Regions from separate parts of the Homo sapiens genome. Here region 1 is linked to region 2. The links are contacts of gene promoters, found by promoter capture Hi-C in human tissues and cell types (Jung and others, 2019). All regions are on one chromosome and are shown on one strand. Each heading gives the region's core, a stretch centred on a gene start or on the middle of the fragment in contact. The rest is flanking DNA. Distances are from core to core; before and after follow the strand shown. Region 1 has its middle 16 kb from the start of MIR8059. Region 2 holds the start of ABCC3 (ATP binding cassette subfamily C member 3).

Region 1 (6,000 bases), core at 3,433-5,932, 150 kb before region 2:
CCCTCCTTCCAGATAGGGGCTTGCCTGGTGTACTTGAGAAGGAGCACAGGGCCAGTGGGGCTACAGCCAAGTGAGAGAGGGGACCACGTTGCAGGAGCTCCTGGGATCCAGACTGTGGAGGGCTTTGTAGACCATTGCAAGACTTAGGCACTTACTCTAAGCAAAATGAGAAGCAGAGGCCTGGCAAGCTCTGACTTCCATGCTAAAAGGATCACTTTATTGCTGAGAAAGAAGAGATATGGGGGCGGTGCAGAAGCAGGGAGACCAGTGGGAATGGGAGGGGATATTGCAATAATCAGACTAGGGTGGCCGCAGCGGAGGTGGGGAGAAGAGGTTGGATCTGACTATGCTGTGAGGTCGGATCTCAGAGGATGGGGTGGGGGTCAGTGAGAGGAGGTGAGGGGTTCTGAGCTGAAGAACACCAAGGCTCAGCCTGGCCCTGCCTGATGGCCCCACCCAGAAATCCCCAGCTCCCTCTGCTCCCGCTGCATTGGCCCTTGTTTTCATCCCCCGAACACATTCCCCTCTCTCCTGCCTCAGAGGTCTCGGTACTTGCCACTGCCTCTTTCCCCTCGCTCTTGGCCTGGCTAAATCCATCATTTGGGTCACAGCTTAAATGTTCTTCCAGAGGCCTTCCCGGGACCCCCACCCACCCCACCCCTATGAATTGTCTTCTCTGCCATCCTCCCTCCTCCTACCCTGTTCTTTCCCTTTCCAGTGCTCCTTTTAATCACGTACGTAATCCTGTGGTTATTGGTTTAACGTCTGCTCCATTAGATCACCAGGGAGCAGGGCCCGACAGGCTGTGTGGGGTCAAGTCCCTGTTATTCCCATCTAGACCTGTGTGAACTGGGGAAAGCTAGTAAACCACTGGGCCTCAGTCTCTTCCTTGGAAAAATGGCAGTAAGGCCCAAGGCAATCCTCCAGGTAGAGCGCTGAGCTCAGTGCCTGGCCCACTGTTCAGTACATGTTAGCTACTATGGGGGCCATGGAAAGGAGGCCAATGTATTTATCTGGAAGCGCTCAGGCTGTTCAGATGACTTCACTGTATTTGGCAAGCTCTCCGAGTGGCATAAACAAACAGCACTCTGAGTAGACTGCTCAAATGAGGCAGGTTTGAAACTGCCTCTTGGCAAATGCACATTCAGGGAAATTAGAGAGATGTGTGCATTTGCTGATTTTAGTTGCTTGTCATCCAAATACCAATCGAGAGGGGAGGATACAAATCTCAAGATGGGCTGGAGGCAGTGTTCCCCCTATGGAAGCCTAAGGGGGCCAAAGATCCAATTCCTGCAGGGGGTGCTTGGGAACTCAGCCTTGGTTCATCCTGCCTAGGACTTTGACACTGACTGAGGGTTATTGAGAAGCTGGGACCATTGAGGTGTCACTCCTCTAATGTTGGGGTCCCAGCTGCCACCATCAAAGGGCAGTGATGGTTGTGAGGTTGGCATGATTGTCCTCATAAGACCCTCCCTGTGATTCTGCCTCCCAGCCTTCTGGGTTCCTGCCCAATTTGTCAGGCTGGTTCCAGTTTACCCTGTGACTCTATGAACCATCCATCATCATTCCAGAAAATTATTTTTGGGCTATAGTTAACCAGGGTTGTTTTCTATTGTTTACAACCAGGATCGTCTCCCCTCCCAGAAGGGGCTGAGTACCAACCCTCAGAAAACCTCATCCACCACCTTGGCTCTGCCCTACTCATTACTGGGAGCATAAACTTCCCTAGGGTGCTATGGGGCGGGCATGTGTCAGTCTGTACTAGGAGTACCCTGAAAACAGGGCAAAAGATGTGCCAAGCTAGATTAGGAAATGTTAACCAGGCTTCTTTCTCTAGCATGTCATACCGCCCCGCCCCAATGCAGGTGGCAGCAAGGATGTCCTTGGGGCAGGAATGTTTCAGAAGAAATGAAGAGAAGCCAGTGGAGCTAGGTCTTGGATACTAGCTTCAAAGTTGAGGTCCTTGCCTCAGTAAAAACACTGATCACACGATGGCTCTCTCCTCCCCACTCCAGCCCTGTTGTCTGGGCTGCAGTAGGGGCACTGCAGAGCTCAGGGAGTAGAGGGGCGCAGTGGTGAAGGCACTTCCTGGTGAAGGCACTGAGGTACCATCTCCCAGAACACCCTCATGTCTCTACACGTAAGGAGACATGCTGCTGTGGCTTGTCTGGGCAGAGAGGGCCTGAGACAAACCCCTCCCCACAGTTTCCCATTGAAGTGGCTGAGAGAGGGTTCTGGGACCACATGAAGCTCAGGATCAGGATGGTATAACAAGGAGGCCAGGTGGGCCGCGGGCCCTCATGGTGAATGCTGATGGGATGGACACGGGCAGTAATGAATCCAGTGAGAACGGAAATCAGCAAATGATGCCCGATAGGGCCAGAGACCATCTTTACAGATACCAGCAGAGAAAACGAGAACGACCAAGATCAGAGCCCTCTCCCTGCTGACACCATTAGCTGGGACCCCAGGGCAAAGGGGGAGGCAAAAACTTAGAATTGACTGAAGAGGCCAGGCGTGGTAGCTCACACCTGTAGTCCCAGCACTTTGGGAGGCCAAGGCGGGTGGATCACAAGGTCAAGAGTTGGAATCGAGCCTGGCCAACATGGTGAAACCATGTCTCTACTAAGAATACAAAAATTAGCCAGGTATGGTGACACATGCCTGTAATCCCAGCTACTCGGGAGGCTGAGGCAGGAGAATCACTTGATCCCAGGAGGCAGAGGTTGCAGTGAGCAGAGATCGCACCACTGCATTCCAGCCTGGGTGACAGAGCAAGACTCCGTCGCAGAAAAAAAAGAATTGACTGAGGAAACCCTGAATTCTGTAATAAAAATGTTTCCACATCGTGCAACATGGGAAATGGAGGTGGAAATCCAAGTCAATTATAGAAAATAGAAACATTCACACTTCTGACTTTGTAACCCATGAAGCTTGTGCCCCTACAAGGAGATCTCACCCCCATGTAACCTGGGTGCCAACCCATTACCTAAGAAAACAGACAGGCCTGGAGAGCTTTAGGGAGAGTTGTGGAGGGACGGACTTTGAACTCTTGTAAAGTGACTTGCTTTTATTAGGCACCTACTGTATACCAGGCACATTGCTGAACACTATATATTATTTATTTTTCTTTTTTCTTTTCTTTTCTTTTTCTTTTTCTTTTTGGACAGTCTCACTCTGTTGCCCAGGCTGGAGTGCAGTGGTGCCATCTCAGCTCACTGCAACCTCCATCTCCCAGGTTCAGGTGATTCTCGTGCCTCAGGCTCCCGAACTATATATTATTTCTTTCTGTTTTTGTTTGTTTTGTTTTGTTTTTGAGACAGGGTCTCACTTGGTTGCCCAGGTTGGAGTGCAGTGGTGCGGTCTCAGCTCACTGCAAGCTCAGCCTCTGGAGTAACTGGGATCATAGGTATGTGTCACAACGCCTGGCTAATTTTTGTATTTTCACTAGAGACGGTGTTTCGCCATGTTGCCCAGGCTGGTCTCAAACTGCTGGCCTCAAGTGATCCGCCCGCCTTGGTCTCCCAAATTGCTGGGATTACAGGCATGAGCCACCATGCCCAGCCTACATATTCTTTCTAAGTGAGGTGGAAATTATTATTTTCTTTTTGCAGACAAGAAAACTACAACACAGTTGCTGAATGAGGGAGCCAGGGTGCATTGGGCTGATTTCCCACAGGACAGTTTATGGACTCCTTGGATAACCAGGAATACTGCTCTGCGGCTTTACACCCAAAGGTGGTGCTGGGAGAGATGGGAGACCAGGGAGGGACTGAATTAAAAATGCAGGTTCTTGGAGGAAGCTCAGGCAGGAGTGGGGCGGCCCCTGGTGGACACACGGAGAATGGCAACTCGGTGGTGCGGACCTGCCCTGCCCAGTGGCCTTGCATGGGAATGGCAGGGAAGGAAAGGGGCAGGCTCAAGAGGAGGTATTGAGAGGGGCTCCCATGTTGGAGCTCAGTCCTGGGACAGCAAAGGCTACTCCTGGGGCGCGGGGGCGGTATGGGAAGGGGCATTTCATGAGGACAGGCAAGAGGAAGGAAGCTGACCTTCACTGAGCGTTGACTATGCTCACAAGATACAGGTGGGAAATGATATCGACTTTTAAAACGGGCCCGCTGGGCGCGGTGGCTCATGTCTGTAATCCCAGCACTTTGGGAGGCCGAGGTGGGCAGATCACTTGAGGTCAGGAGTTCGAGACCAGCCTGGCCAGCATGGTGAAACCCCATCTCTACTAAAAATGCAAACAAATTAGTGGGGCATCATGGCACATGCCTGTAATCCCAGCTACCTGGGAGGCTGAGGCAGGAGAATCGCTTGAACCCGGAAGGCAGAGGTTGCAGTGAGCCAAGTTCCCACCACTGCGCTCCAGCCTGGGCGACAGACCAAGACTCCATCGCAAAAAAAAAAAAAAAAAAAAAAAAAAAAAAAAAAAGGGCAAAGATATCCAGGCACATGCGAACCAAAAGAAAACCAAGGTCATGACATGAAGCTCAAAAAATTATATGAAACACGACGGATCTCTTTGTACTGCTAAAAGGGAAAGACCCCAGAAAATAAAACGTGCACCAAGTAACATAATGTAAAACACATAGGCCGGGCGCGGTGGCTCACGCCTGTAATCCCAGCACTTTGGGAGGCCAAGGCGGGCGTCACGAGGTCAGGAGATCAAGACCATCCTGGCTAACACGGTGAAACCCGGTCTCTACTAAAAATACAAAAAATTAGCCGGGAGTGGTGGCAGGTGCCTGTAGTCCCAGCTACCTGGGAGGCTGAGGCAGGAGAATGGCGTGAACCCGGGAGGCGGAGCTTGCAGTGAGCCGAGATGGAGCCACTGCACTCCAGCCTGGGCAACAGAGCGAGACTCTGTCTCAAAAAAAAAAAAAAAAAAAAAAAAAAAAGTGCACATCAAGAAAGTGAAGAGACAATCCACAGAATGGGAGAAAATATTCATAAATCATATACCTGATCAGGGACTTGTAACCAGAATATGTAAAAAGGCTCTTACAACTCAATAAGAAGACAACCCAATTTTAAAATAGGCAAAGGCCAGGCTCGGTGGCTCATGCCTGTAATCCCAGCACTTTGGGAGGTCAAGGCAGGCAGAACACTTGACGTCAGGAGTCCTAGACAGCCTGGCCAACATGGTGAAACCCCATCTCTACTAAAAATACAAAAATTAGCCTGACACAGTGGCACGAGCCTGTAATCCCAGCTATTCGAGAGGCTGAAGCGGGAGGATCACTTCAGCCCGGAAGGCGGAGGTTGCAGTGAGCCAAGATCACATCACTGCGCTTCAGCCTGGGCGACAGAGTGAGACTCCGTCTCAAATAAAATAAAATAAAATAAAATAAAATAAAATAAAATAAAATAAAATAAAATAGGCAAATGATTTGAATAGATGTTTCTCTAAAGAAGACATGCAAATGGCCAATAAACACAAGAAGAGATGTTCAACATCACTAGTCATTAGGGAAATGCAAATCAAAACCAAAATAAGATACCACTTCACACTCACTGGTATAGCTACAGTTTAAAAGACAAATAAAAAATAGACCTTCTCAATCCCCCTGTCTCTGTGAACTTCCGCTGGGAAAAGCGATGCACTGGCGAAAGCCGTGTGAGGGGGGCCTTTGGCTCCAGAGAGACGGCGCGAGAGCCCCAGTGGGAACCACCCGGAGACCCAGAAGATCGAATTCGCCACTGCGCTGCGCGGCCGCCACACTCGCCGGGATCGGCCGGGTTTGAAGACGCGCCATGGAAGCCAGAGGGGTCTGACGATGGGGACCTCTCGGAGCGTCGTCGCCCTGCTACTGCGCCTTGGCGGCCGCGCTCCATCTGGAGGCTTCCTCGTGACGCATACGCAGCCTGGCCGCCAAGAAGACCGTCGCCTGCCTGGGACAGCCACCCTGGACACCCAGAAGCCAGGAGATTTCCAGTGAGGCCCTTCGCTTCCTTATCTTTTGCCCAAGAACTGGGTTTCCGTAATGCGTCCGCTCT
Region 2 (3,462 bases), core at 1-2,500:
ATGACCACAGAGAAGCACCTTTAATCTGAGCTCCCTCTGTAAAACGGAGACCACATGATCACTTGCCTCATAGAGGCAAGTAAGTTTTGCAAGTTGGTAAGAAAGCTCCTAGGCTGTATGCACTTAGCTCACCTGAACTGTGCTGGAGGCTGGAGTCAGCAGGCTGAAGAGCAGCCTGTCTTAGAAAGAGATTTGGAGTGAGAGTCACCAAAGGCTTGATTTTCTTTTCTTATTTATTTATTTTTTTAGAGACAGGGTCTCACTCTTTCGCCCAGGCCACAGTGCAGTGGTGCGATCATAGCTCACAGTAATCTAAAACTCCTGGGCTGAAGTGATCCTCCCACCTCTGCCTCCCAAAGGGTGGGATTACAGGCGTGAACCACTGCACCTGGCCTGTAGCCTGTTTTTCTATCCCAGCTCTGCCTTCATTGAACTGGGTAACTTTGGGCAAGTCCCTTCCTCTCTCTGGGCCTCCCTTTCTCCATCTGTGAGAAGGGAGTTGGACTACAGGAATCCTGACACCCTGCACCTGTCTCCAGACTGGGGTCTGCTTCTCCCTTCTGAGTCCGGAGTGGTGGGGATGGCCTGCTCTCAGACCTCAGTCTTACCTAGAGAAAAGAAGGTGGCAGGAAACCTTCCTAAGAAGGGTGGGACACTGCACAGCCGGCCTCCCAAAACACCTGGTTGAGCAGGTGCTCTGGATGCCCTGGGGGCAATCCATGCCCAGGTGGGCAACCGAGTCCTAACCTGAGGCAGATGCTGAGGGAAGACCCTCCATCAGGAACCCGCGGCTGATTGCGAAACGCCCCTTCCGCACCCGACGGAGGGGCTGGGATGGAGCCGACTCACCCAGCCACGCACTGTGCCTTTGCGCCCCAGCCGCGCACTCTTCCTCACTTTCCCGGGCTCCCCAGTGCTGCAGCCGGGAAGGGCAGAGCAGGGCAGGTCCCCGACACCGCGTGGGACCCGGCTCCGGGCGGCGCAGCCAACCTCCCTCCCGAGCCCATCGCCCCCTCCCGGGCGCCCAGGCCGTCTCAGGGGCTCCGTCCCGGGATACCTGCCGGCCCCGCGGGAAGGCAGGCGGCGGGGACCGGGCGAAGCCGGCCGACCCTGGCCCCCGCGCAGTGACCCCGGAGCCCCGCGCCTTACCCAGAACTTGGAGCCGAGCTCCCCGGAACCGCACAGGGCGTCCATGGGGCCGAGGCGCGGCTGCAAGGAAGGCGAGCGCGGTCGGACCCAGCGGCGGGCAGAGCGGGCGCCGGAGCCGCCTCCGCCCTCCGCACCCCGCGCTCCGCCCGGACCCGCCCTGCCGAGCCCTACCCCAGTGCCTCTGGGTCCGGTCTCCCTGCCCCCGTCCCGCGGGTTGCGACAGCGCCTCCCTGGGAGGGACTTTGGGGCAGAGGTGGGGGGGCCCTTGGCACGGCGACAGCCCCTGCGAGCGGCCCCTGGGCCAAGCCAGGGGGATGTCTCTCTAAATACCGAGGCTAACAGTCCAGGAGTCGAGTCTATTTCCAAGGGGGAACTGGGATACACAGGCGCTCCCACTCCCGAACAAGTCCGTGGGGCCGATGAGTCATTGAGTAGGGGACGTAGGGAGAGGGATTTAACAATCTTTCCTAGTAAAAAAGGAATCTTTGAGAAGGTCACGTTCCTCTCCGGAGGTCAGTTTCCTCATCTGTAAAATGGGAAGGGCTTCTGTGCTCAATCAGGAAGCTGACCTCTTCCCCATCAGGTTCCAGAGACCACTGGCAGGCGCCACACGGGGAGCACACGGGGTGTGCTCCGCGGGTGTGTACCCGTGAGGCGGGGGTGGGGGCCGCAGCATCGTCCAGCGGGGGCCTCTTATGTCCTCTTAAACTGCTGCCCTCTTAGGCTCTGTGGCTCCCTGACCTTGCCACATCACCTCGGCACGTCTCTGGGCCTCTACTTTCACATCCGTAAAATAGAGACAATCATAGAAGAGAATCTTCCTCCCAGGGTTCTCTGAGGATTGAATGGAAAGGGTAGGCAAAGCGTATTTCCTGGCACACTTAGTGGGCACCCAACATGTGTGAATTCCCTCTGCTTCAGCCTGATCAGGGTTGGGGGGGGAAGGACAGGTGAAGCCCCAGGAGGAGCCCCACGTGAGTGTCCTCGTCCTCGTCCTCCTCCTAAGGCTGAAACTCTACATTCCTGATCTGTAAAATGGGCTTGTCAGTGCTCTCCTTCTCCTGCTTGCCTCAGCTCTCCTTCTCCCGGTATCCCCTCAGATGCGGGGATCCCTCCATCTCTCAATCCCGCTGTTGCCCTGTCTTCCTTAACACAATCCCAGACGCCAACTCAGCACCGCTTGTTGGGGCTCAGAAGGAATTCTCCCTGGCAAATCTTTCCCTGGCCCTTCTCTTCCCTGCCTTTGCCCACAGGTCTGTCCAGTTTCACCCCGGTGACCCCTTTTCTGGCCCTTGTTCTCAAGAGAAGGTGTTTCCTTCCTTGGCTGCTCAGCGGCAGGTGTGGGTGGGAGCCAGTAAGAGTGCAGAAGGGGCAAGCCACCTCCTATCTCTCTGGGCAGCCAGGAGGTCACTAGAAGGGAAGTCTCCTTGGCTATAGGCTATCAGAACCAAGATCTGGCTGGGCATGGGATAGGGGTGGGAGTGGAGAAGATTCCCCTTTCCCAGGCAGTCAGACCAGGGACTTCTACCCCTCCACTGGGCAAGTTCTTTCAGCCCCTTCTTTGTCTGCCCTCTTCCTTTCCACTCATCCACACATACCCTCCCTCTCCTGTCCCCCTACCTTCATCTCTGGGCAAAATACTTTACAGAGCTTTACACCTTGTTACGGCGTGCCTTGGATTATATTTAGTTATGAAGAGTCTGTCTTCCCTGCTAATCTGAGAGGTCCCCAAGGGCAGGGACTAACTCAGTCCCCTCCAATCCCCCTCCATACCTTTTATACACTGTGTGATCTCAATAAGCTCCTTGATGCCTCTGGGACTTCATTTCTTGAGAAACGTGGACAGGGTGATATCTAAGCTCTCTTCCAGCCCTGGTGGGCCAGGCTTCTATGGCCTAGGCAGCTGGGAACCTTCCTCCACCCCTTCCATGACCCTGGTCATGGCTTCATCAGCACCCACTGCCCCTGTGTTTTGACCTTGTCTACCCACCGGCTTCCTCCAACTCTCCCTCCTCTCCCATTCCTTTTCTAGGGCTTGTGGGGTCATAGGCACCAGATTGCTCTGGGCTTGAGGAGACCTGGGGACTTTCCTTTAGGGCCCTTTGGGAGGTGAGCTCCCCAATCAGACCTCCTTTCTGAGATGGAGAGCCCAGAACTAGCCTGAGCTTCCGTCCGGGACTTTCCAGCCCCACAGTTGGCCAGGCAGTGCACTGGCTGGAGCTCTAGTTTTGGGCTAGGACCCTTGGGTTCTGGCTTCAGCATCGGAGCTGAAGCACCATCCCTTGCAGCCCCAGGCTTTTCTATCGCTATTGC

What was found. Contacts are between HindIII fragments. The study calls those that stand out against the background at their distance.
Region 1: a contact is called between a fragment that was not itself captured here and the fragment with the promoter of ABCC3 in region 2, in 1 of the 25 tissues and cell types used here (mesendoderm cells).

The regions. Positions count from the first base shown.
Region 1 is chr17:50,781,165-50,787,164 of GRCh38, reverse strand. No RefSeq gene overlaps it. Among named protein-coding and RNA genes, the nearest start is that of MIR8059, 16 kb to the right of the region's middle. The HindIII fragment of the contact is 7,282 bases long and covers 1,042-6,000 here.
Region 2 is chr17:50,632,669-50,636,130 of GRCh38, reverse strand. ABCC3 (ATP binding cassette subfamily C member 3) reads right to left here and starts at 1,250. Exons shown (of 31, transcript NM_003786.4): 1 at 1,150-1,250. The coding sequence starts at 1,194. RefSeq lists a silencer at 1,231-1,280. The HindIII fragment of the contact is 6,790 bases long and covers 1-3,462 here.